Linked DNA regions of Homo sapiens: region 1 is linked to region 2. The links are contacts of gene promoters, found by promoter capture Hi-C in human tissues and cell types (Jung and others, 2019). All regions are on one chromosome and are shown on one strand. The core of a region is centred on a gene start or on the middle of the fragment in contact, and the rest is flanking DNA. Distances in the headings are between cores, read along the strand shown.

Region 1 (4,727 bases), core at 1,130-3,629, 53 kb before region 2:
GCCTGCAGGTACACAGAAGTCAAGAATTGAGGTTTGGGAACCTCAGCCTAGATTTCAGAGCATGTATGGAAATGCCTGGATGTCCAGATAGAAGTTTGCTGCTGGGGTGAGGTATTCATAGAGAACCTTTGCTAGGGCAGTGCAGAAAGGAAATGTGGAGTGGGTCCCCCATAGAGAGTCCCCACTGGGGTGCTGCCTAGTGGAGCTGGGAGAAGAGGGCCACCATCCTCCAGAGCCAGAATGGTAGATCCACCAACAGCTTACCCTGTGCACCTGGAAAAGCCATGCTCAACACCACCCTGTGAAAGCAGCTGGGAGGGAGGCCACACCTTGCAAAGCCACAGGGGCAGAGCTGCCGAAGACCATGGGAGCCCACCTCTTGCATCGGCATTACCTGGATATAAGACATGGAGTCAAAGAGTAGTTTCACTGCCCTACAAATCCTCTATACCTCTCCTTTTCATCTCTCCCTCTCCCAACCCCTGATGACCACTGATCTTTTTACCATCTCTGTAGTTCTGCCTTTTCTAGAATGTCATATAGTTGGAATCAAAAGTATGCAGCCTTTCAGACAGGCTTCTTATAGGAATACACATTTAAGTTCCCTCTATGTGTTTTCATGACTTAATAGCTCATTTCTCTTTAGCACCAAATAATATTCTATTGTCTGGATGTACCACCATTTATTTATCCATTCACCTACTGAAGGACATCATGGTTGCTTCCAAGTTTGGGCAATTATAAATAAAGCTGCTATAAACATCATGCACAGATTTTTGCATGAACATAAGTTTTCAACTTCTTTTGGTAAATACCAGGGAGCATTATTGCTGTATTGTTTGGTAAGAGTATGTTTAGTTTTGTAAGAAACTGCCAAAATACCTTCCAAAGTGACTGTACCATTTTACATTTCCACAGCAATGAATGAGAGTACTTGTTGCTCCACATCCTTGTCAGCATTTGGTGTTATCAGTGTCTTGAATTTTCAACATTCTAATCAATGTCTCATTGCTGTTTTAACTTGAAATTCCCTAATGACATATAATGTTGAACATCTTTTCATACACTTATTTGCCATCTGTATATTTTTGTTGAGATGCTTGTTCAGATCTGTTGCCCACTTTTAAATCAGGTTGTTTGTTTTCTTAATGTTCAGTTTTAAAATTCTTGGTGTATTTTGGATAACTGCCCTTTATTAAATGCGTCTTTTGCAAATATTTTCTCCCCATCTGTGGTTTGTCTTCTCATTCTCTTGACAATGTCTTTTGCAAAGCAGAAGTCTTTAATTTTAGTAAACACCAGTTTATCAATTCTTTGTTTCATGGATTGTGGTTCTGGTGTTGCATCTAAAAGTTATTGCCAAATCCCAGGTCATCTAGATTTTCTTTCTTTCTTTTTCTTTTATTAACTCTTCTAGTTTTATAGTTTTGGATTTTACATTTAAGCTTATGATCCATTTTGAGCTACTGTTTGTGAAGGATGTAAAGTCTTTGTCTAGTTCCATCTTTTTATATATGGATATCCAATTATTCCAGTATCATTTGTTGAAAAGACTGTCTTTTCCTCATTGCATTGCCTTTGCTCATTTGTCAAAGATTAGTTAACTATATTCATGAGGGTCTATTTATGAGCTCTCTATTCAATTCCATTGTTCTATTTGTCGATTCTCTCACCAATATCAGTCTTGATTATCGTAGATTTATAGTAAGTCTTGAAGTTAAGCAGTATCAGGTTTACTTTTTTCTTGTCCCTCAATATTGTGTTGGCTATTCTGGGTCTTTTGCCTCTCCATATAAACTTTAGAATCTCTGTTGATATTACAAAATATCTTGCAGGGACTTTTAATTTTTTTTGAATTGTGATGAATCTTTACAACAAGCTGGAAAGAACGAATATCTTGACAAGACTTTGTCTTTCTATCATCCTATTACCTTTAATCTATTTGTATCTTAACATTTAATGTATGTTTCCTATAGGCAACATATAGGTCAGTCTTGCTTTTTTATCCACTCTGACAATCTCTGCCTTTTAATTGAGATTGTTTCAACATTTATATTTAATGTATTGTTGATATGGGTAGACTTTAGTTCATCATTGTAATTTTTTTCTATTTGTCCCAGCTGTCCTTTGTTCCATTTTTCTCGATTTCTGCCTTTTTTGGATTAATACGCTGTGGTTTTTTTTGGTTTTTTTTGTTTTTTTTTGAGACGGAGTCTCGCTCTGTGGCCCAGGCGGGAGTGCAGTGGCGCAATCTTGGCTCACTGCAAGCTCTGCCTCCTGGGTTCACGCCATTCTCCTGCCTCAGCCTCCCGAGTAGCTGGGACTACAGGCGCCCGCCATCACGCCCGGCTAATTTTTTTGTATTTTTAGTAGAGACGGGGTTTCACCGTGTTAGGCAGGATGGTCTTGATCTCCTGACCTCGTGATCCGCCCGCCTCGGCCTCCCAAAGTGCTGGGATTACAAGCGTGAGCCACCGTGCCCGGCCAATACGCTGGTTTTTTAAAAAATATTTTTATCATCTTTTTCCTTGGTTTATTAGCTATAACTCTTTGTTTTGTTATTTAGTGGCTGCTATAGGGTTTATAATATACATCTCTAACATTTTACATTCTACCTTCAAGTGATATTATAGCATTTTTATGTATAGTATAAAATCCTTTCTTCCACTTCTCCTTTTATGGGCTTTGTGGTATTGTTAGCTATACATTTTGTTTTCACATATATTGTAAACCCTACAATACAATACATTATTATTATTTTTGCTTAAAAATATAATTATATTTTAAAGGCATTTAAATGATAAGGAAAAGTTTTATACACATATATATGTAGCTACCATTTCCAATGTTCTTTATTCTGTTGTGTAGACCCGTATCTATATGTGGTATCTTTTTTTTTTCTGCCTGAAACTTCCTATAACATTTCTTACAGTGTAGGCCTGCTGGAGATAAATTCTTTCAGATTTTTGTGTCTGAAGAAGTTTTTATTTCACTTTTGTTTTTGACAGATAGCTTTGCTGAGTATAGTATTCTAGATTGATACAACTGTCTCACTTGTATTTCTCCCAAGGAGAAATCTGCTGTTATCCTTATCTTTGTCCCTTTGAATGTTGTGGTCTTTTATCTCTGGATGATTTTATGATTTCTCTTTATCAATGGTTTTTGACACATTTTATACTGATGTGCTTTTATGAAATTTTATTTTCATATGCTTTTCTTCATGTTTCTTTTACTTGGTGTTCATTGAGCTTCTTGGATTTATGAGTTTATAGTATTCATTAAATTTGAAAAAAAAATTTGGACATTATTTCCTCAAATATTTTTTCAAGTCTCCTACTCCCCCTCCTCTCCTTTGGTGCTCCAATGACAGTTATATTAGGCTGTTGGAGTTGTCCCACCACTGATGCTCTGTTAACATTTTTTTTTTTTTTTTTGAGACGGAGTCTTGCTCTGTCACCCAGGCCGAAGTGCAATGGCGTGATCTCAGCTCAGTGCAACATCTGCCTCCCAGGTTCAAGCAATTCTCCCTCCTCAGCCTCCTGAGTAGCTGGGATTACAGGCACCCAAGATCATGCCTGGCTAATTTTTGTATTTTTGTGGAGATGGGGTTTCACCATGTTGGCCAGGCTGGTCTTGAACTCCTCACCTCAGGTGATTAGCCCACCTTGGCCTCCCAAAGTGCTGGGATTACAGGTGTGAGCACCCACCATGCCCGGACAGCTCTGTTAACTTTTGAAACTATTTCTTCTCTCTGCGTTTCATTTTAGGTAGTTTCTATACCTCGATCTTCAAGTCCAATGAATCTTTTCTCTCCTGAAATGCCTAGTCTGCCATCAGTTCCATCCAGTGTATTTTAATCTCAGGCATTGTAGTTTTCATCTCTAGAAATTCAATTTGGATCTTTTATATTTTCCACATTTCTATTTAACTTTTTGAAATATAGAAGAACTCAAAATAAAAACTATTTTGGTGTCCTGTTCTGCTAATTCCAACATCTGTGTCAGTCTGGGGATGGTTTCTACTGATTAATTATTTTCCTCATTATAGGTTGTGTTTTCCTGCCTCTTTCCATGCCTGGTTCAGAACAGACACTATTTCCAGTCCTATGTGAACATCAGATACTGTTCCCTCTAATATTTTCAGACGATTCTTCCTCCAGCCTTTAGGTGGCTCTTTTTTGGACCGCCTTTCCCTAGATGACATCACTCCAATTTCTTCCAAATCCTGTATCTGGTGTCCAATATTTTGAAAGGGTCTCTTCCTCACTGGCAAAGCCTGAGGCTTACCAAAAGCAGAAAAGGGGAGTAAAAAGTGTGACTCCTACTAAGATGAAATGGAGAAAAGCACTCAATAGTTACCTGATGCCTTCAGTGTGTTACATGCAAACGAGTGGTTTTGGTATTTGGGAAAGGCAGGTTAAAGAGGCTGCTTTATTTATTTCTTCTCAATGAATATGGGATCATCTTTCCATGATTAAAGTCAAGAGGACCTGCAGTATTTGGGACATACATTGCTAGATTAAGCATACATAGATCTCAAACCACTTCAGGCTCAGTAGATTGCAATCTTTTGTTTTGTTTTAAGCTAAAATGGCCTATTTCCACATTCTCAGAGACACCTAGGATTTTCAGCTATAACATTCTGTGCTTCTAAGGGTCTCAAAATATTTGATAGATGTTTTATTTTATACCTCCTTTATAACCTTGGAGATAGAATTCAAGCTTTCA
Region 2 (3,766 bases), core at 1,267-3,766:
CTCTACTAAAAATACAAAAAATTAGCTGGGCGTGGTGGCGGGCATCTGTAGTCCCAGCTACTCAGGAGGCTGAGGCAGGAGAATGGCGTGAACTCGGGAGGCGGAGCTTGCAGTGAGCCGAGATTGTGCCACTGCACTCCAGCCTGGGTGACAGAGCAAGACTCTGTCTCAAAAAAAAAAAAAGTGTGGACTTCATTATGGCAATAGGGAGGCTTCAAGGCATTTTAAACCAGAAAGTAACACAATCCATTTAGTATTTTGCTTGTTAGCAACTGTACAACTACTTACAATCTGGCTGATAGAAAAATACTAGAGTGGTTGTACCAGGGTTGACTGGTTCCCCTCCCCCATAACCCCATGGCATTCCCACTCATCCTGGTTGGTAGAGCTTACCTCTCACTAGGTTGGAAATACCCAAGAATCACTTTCCCAGCCTCCCTTGCTGGTAGAACATGGGCATGTGACCCAGTCCCAGCCAATGGGATCTGAGGTGAAAGGATGCCAGGAGGATTCTGGAAAAGGCTTTCCTCCCTCAATGGACAAGACCAGTACCTCAGGGATAGCAGAGCAGAAAGGTGGAAGTGACGACATAATAGAACCACATAGAGACACATTCCTCTGGAGATAGCAGATAATTATTGTTTAAGCCACTTTTATTTGGATACTCTGTTACTTGCACCCTAAAGCATGTGAAGAGAAAGAAGCATTAATGAAGTCACCAATATCAATGAATGTGATGTTATAGAAAACTTATCAGACAAGGCATGGCAGCTCACACCTGTAATCCCACCACTTTGGGAGGCCGAGGTGGGACAACTGTTTGAGGCCAGGAGTTCTAGACCAGCCTAGGAAAAATTGCGAGACCCTGTCCCTACAAAAAAATAGAAAAATATTAGCCAGGGCCAGGTGTGGTGGCTCACACCTGTAATCCCAGCACTTTGGGAGGCCAAGACAGGGGGATCACTGGAGGTTAGGAGCTTGAGGCCAGCCTGACCAACACCGTGAAACCCTGTCTCTACTAAAAATACAAAAATTAGCCGGGCTTGGTGGTGTGCACGTGTAGTCCCAGCTACTCAGGAGGCTGAGGCAGGAGCATTGTTTGAACCCAGGAGGCAGAGGTTGCAGTGAGCTGAGATTGTGCCACTGCACTGCAGCCTGGGCAAGAGAGAGAGACTCTATCTAAAAAAAAAAAAAATTAGCTGGGCATGGTGGCATGCACCTGTATGTAGTCCCAGGTGGGAGGATCACTTGGGCCCAGGAATATGAGGCTAAAGTGAGTCAAGATCACACCACTGCACTCCAGCCTGGGCAACAGAGCAAGACCCTGTCTCAAAAAATAAAATAAAATGTAATATAACAAATAGAGACCTTTTTCCTTCAGATATTTATTTGAAGTAAATCAGCCTCTTAAAATTGGGAATAGTTACCTACAATTGTTAGCTGTTCACTGAACATCTCGAGTGCTTAAGCAAGAAACTACACAATTTCTGAGACGACATGTCTTGTTTTTTCTGTATGTGAAATGACTTTTTCTCACTCTTTTCTCTCATTTGCACATTTCCCCTAAGAAACACTGAAAACTGTCCCTGCTCCCTTCTAGGCAGCAATTCTCTTTTCTTGAAGGTCTCTCTTTCATGAACTCATGGAAGTCAAAGCACATTATCTAAGAAAAACCTCAGCATTGTGTAAACAAAAGAAGGCAACTATCAGCCTTCAGGCAACAGTATAGAATCATGGTTTTTTTAAAGTGAGAAATACCCTACAGATCATTTGTGGTCACACATTAGAATTTGAATACAGGTAAAACCAGAACATCTCGTTAGAGTTCTTAAGATTAATAACAACATTTATCTTTCATCCTAAATTCATATATACAGTAGCTGGCAACTTTTCAGCAACTCCACCTGATCCCATCTGAAGCAAACCCAATCCAGTCATCGCACACTGGGGTCCTATGGCTACCACATTCCTCATTCAAGGAATATTTACTAAGGATCTATCAAGCACTGGCACTGAGATTCAATCGCTCGGATCTTTTTTTCTCATATTGCTTACAATATTTCTGGGAACTCATGACTTTTTCATATGCAATCAATTTTTAAAATATCGGTGAGAAACACTACATATGTGATAGAGGACTGGAATTGCCAGGTAGAGATGGGAGATGATAGCTGCTTTGGGTTAGTCAGTGTCTCCTCCTCTTCCATTGACTTGGACAAATGTTTACAACGGAGATGATCTGATTCTGGCCCCGACAGGCGCGGGGACCCGTTGCGGACGGCCGCGGGGATTGCCCCCTTGGGCAGTGCGGCCCCGAGGATGCAGACACTGGCCCAGCGGAAGGAGGGCGCGGTGCGAGCTGGACGGCCCCGGGAGGCCGCAGACCGCCGGGCTCCCCGAGGACACCTCGCACCGGAGGAGGAGAGGAGGCAGCGCCCGGCCAGGCTGGGAGCACCTACGGCCGCGCGGGGGCGGGAGCCAGGTGGCCTCGGCGCGCCCGCCTCGCCCGGGCACCGAGCAGGAAGTGGCTGCGGCGCGGCCTCCTCGCGGTGCAACAGGGCGGGGAGGCGGCCGCAGCCCGAGCCGGAGCCCGAGCGCCGGGAGCGAGACCTCATGGCAGCGGTGGCGCCCGCGGGCCCCGGGGACTCCGCCTCGGCCGCCCTGGACGAGCTGTCACTGAATTTCACGTACGGGGCACCAGGCGCCGGCAACGGCTCCCTCTCGGGCGACTGGTACCGCAGGAACCAGGTAAGGGCCGCCCCGCAGCCACCGCAGCCCGGTGGGGACGCGGCCAGGGCGGCTGGCTCCGGGCGCCTCTGCGCCTCGGCCGCTTTCCTGCCAGCTCTCAGGAAGACACCCGGCCTCTCCGAGTGGGAAGAGGTGACATGCAATGTTTCCCGCATTGACCTAAGTCCGCCTCATCCGGAAGCGCGGGGGTCCGCCCAGTCTTCCTCTCCCGGGCACCCGGCACTGGGAGTGGGCGCCCAGGTCTTCGGCCTTGACCTCAGCCACCCGTTCCTGGGACCTCCGGGTCCCGATCCCGCCTCCCCAGCCTGCGTCCGCCCTCTTCTCCCGGAAGGAATCTAGGAGTGTGGGGGCAATTCACTCATTTTCACCCCAGGATCCTTTTACAGTTAAAAGAAAAGAAAAAAGTGACACCCTGTTATCAGAAGCAGAAAACTCATTAAGGGCAGCCTAATGTCACCTCGCGCAGATGCCCTGCGTGTGTCCCTGGTATCTCAACACAGCTCTTCCATTTCCGTGCGAGGAACACATTTTCTCAGGTTGCATTTGCAGGACTCTCATTCTTTCCCACCGGCCCTTTGGGAAAACTTTGTTAACTTAAACAACGCCAGTTTACACTGGAAATATACATTTAACAAAATCAAAGGGACTTGGAGCCGCCCATTTATTTTTGGCTTGGTTTAAGATGAGGAAGTGTTCTGGCCAGCCCTTCCTCTAGCAGCGTTCATATTGCAACTAAGTTTTATCACGGTGGATTCCAGGCTTCCTCCTGTTTTCATTAAATGTGTTACTTTGTTCTTGTTCTTTAACAAAACCATGGATACTTTTATTTTTGCAACAATATAATCAGAAAATATTTGTTGCTGTTGTCCTAAATCGGAGAGTTTAACCAATTATCAAAGATCTGGATTCCTTTTATGCCTGAAGTGTTCTAAATATTAATTTCTGAATGCAGAAGAGAATATATTTGTATAAAGAATAAGTAAGATAAATAAGCATGTTCACTTTATTAGTTTTCAAG

What was found. The method cuts DNA at HindIII sites, captures the fragments that hold promoters and counts their contacts. A contact is called where the count stands out against the background at its distance.
Region 1: a contact is called between a fragment that was not itself captured here and the fragment with the promoter of NIPAL2 in region 2, in 3 of the 25 tissues and cell types used here (bladder, hippocampus and mesendoderm cells).

Annotation. Positions count from the first base shown.
Region 1 is chr8:98,344,992-98,349,718 of GRCh38, reverse strand. It overlaps a transcript of STK3 not described here. Among named protein-coding and RNA genes, the nearest start is that of MIR9903, 46 kb to the left of the region's middle. The HindIII fragment of the contact is 6,049 bases long and covers 1-4,727 here.
Region 2 is chr8:98,292,985-98,296,750 of GRCh38, reverse strand. NIPAL2 (NIPA like domain containing 2) reads left to right here and starts at 2,516. Exons shown (of 11, transcript NM_001321635.2): 1 at 2,516-2,748. The coding sequence starts at 2,614. All of the region lies in intron 5 of LOC105375659 (a long non-coding RNA gene), which reads right to left. RefSeq lists a silencer at 2,277-2,996. The HindIII fragment of the contact is 9,267 bases long and covers 1-3,766 here.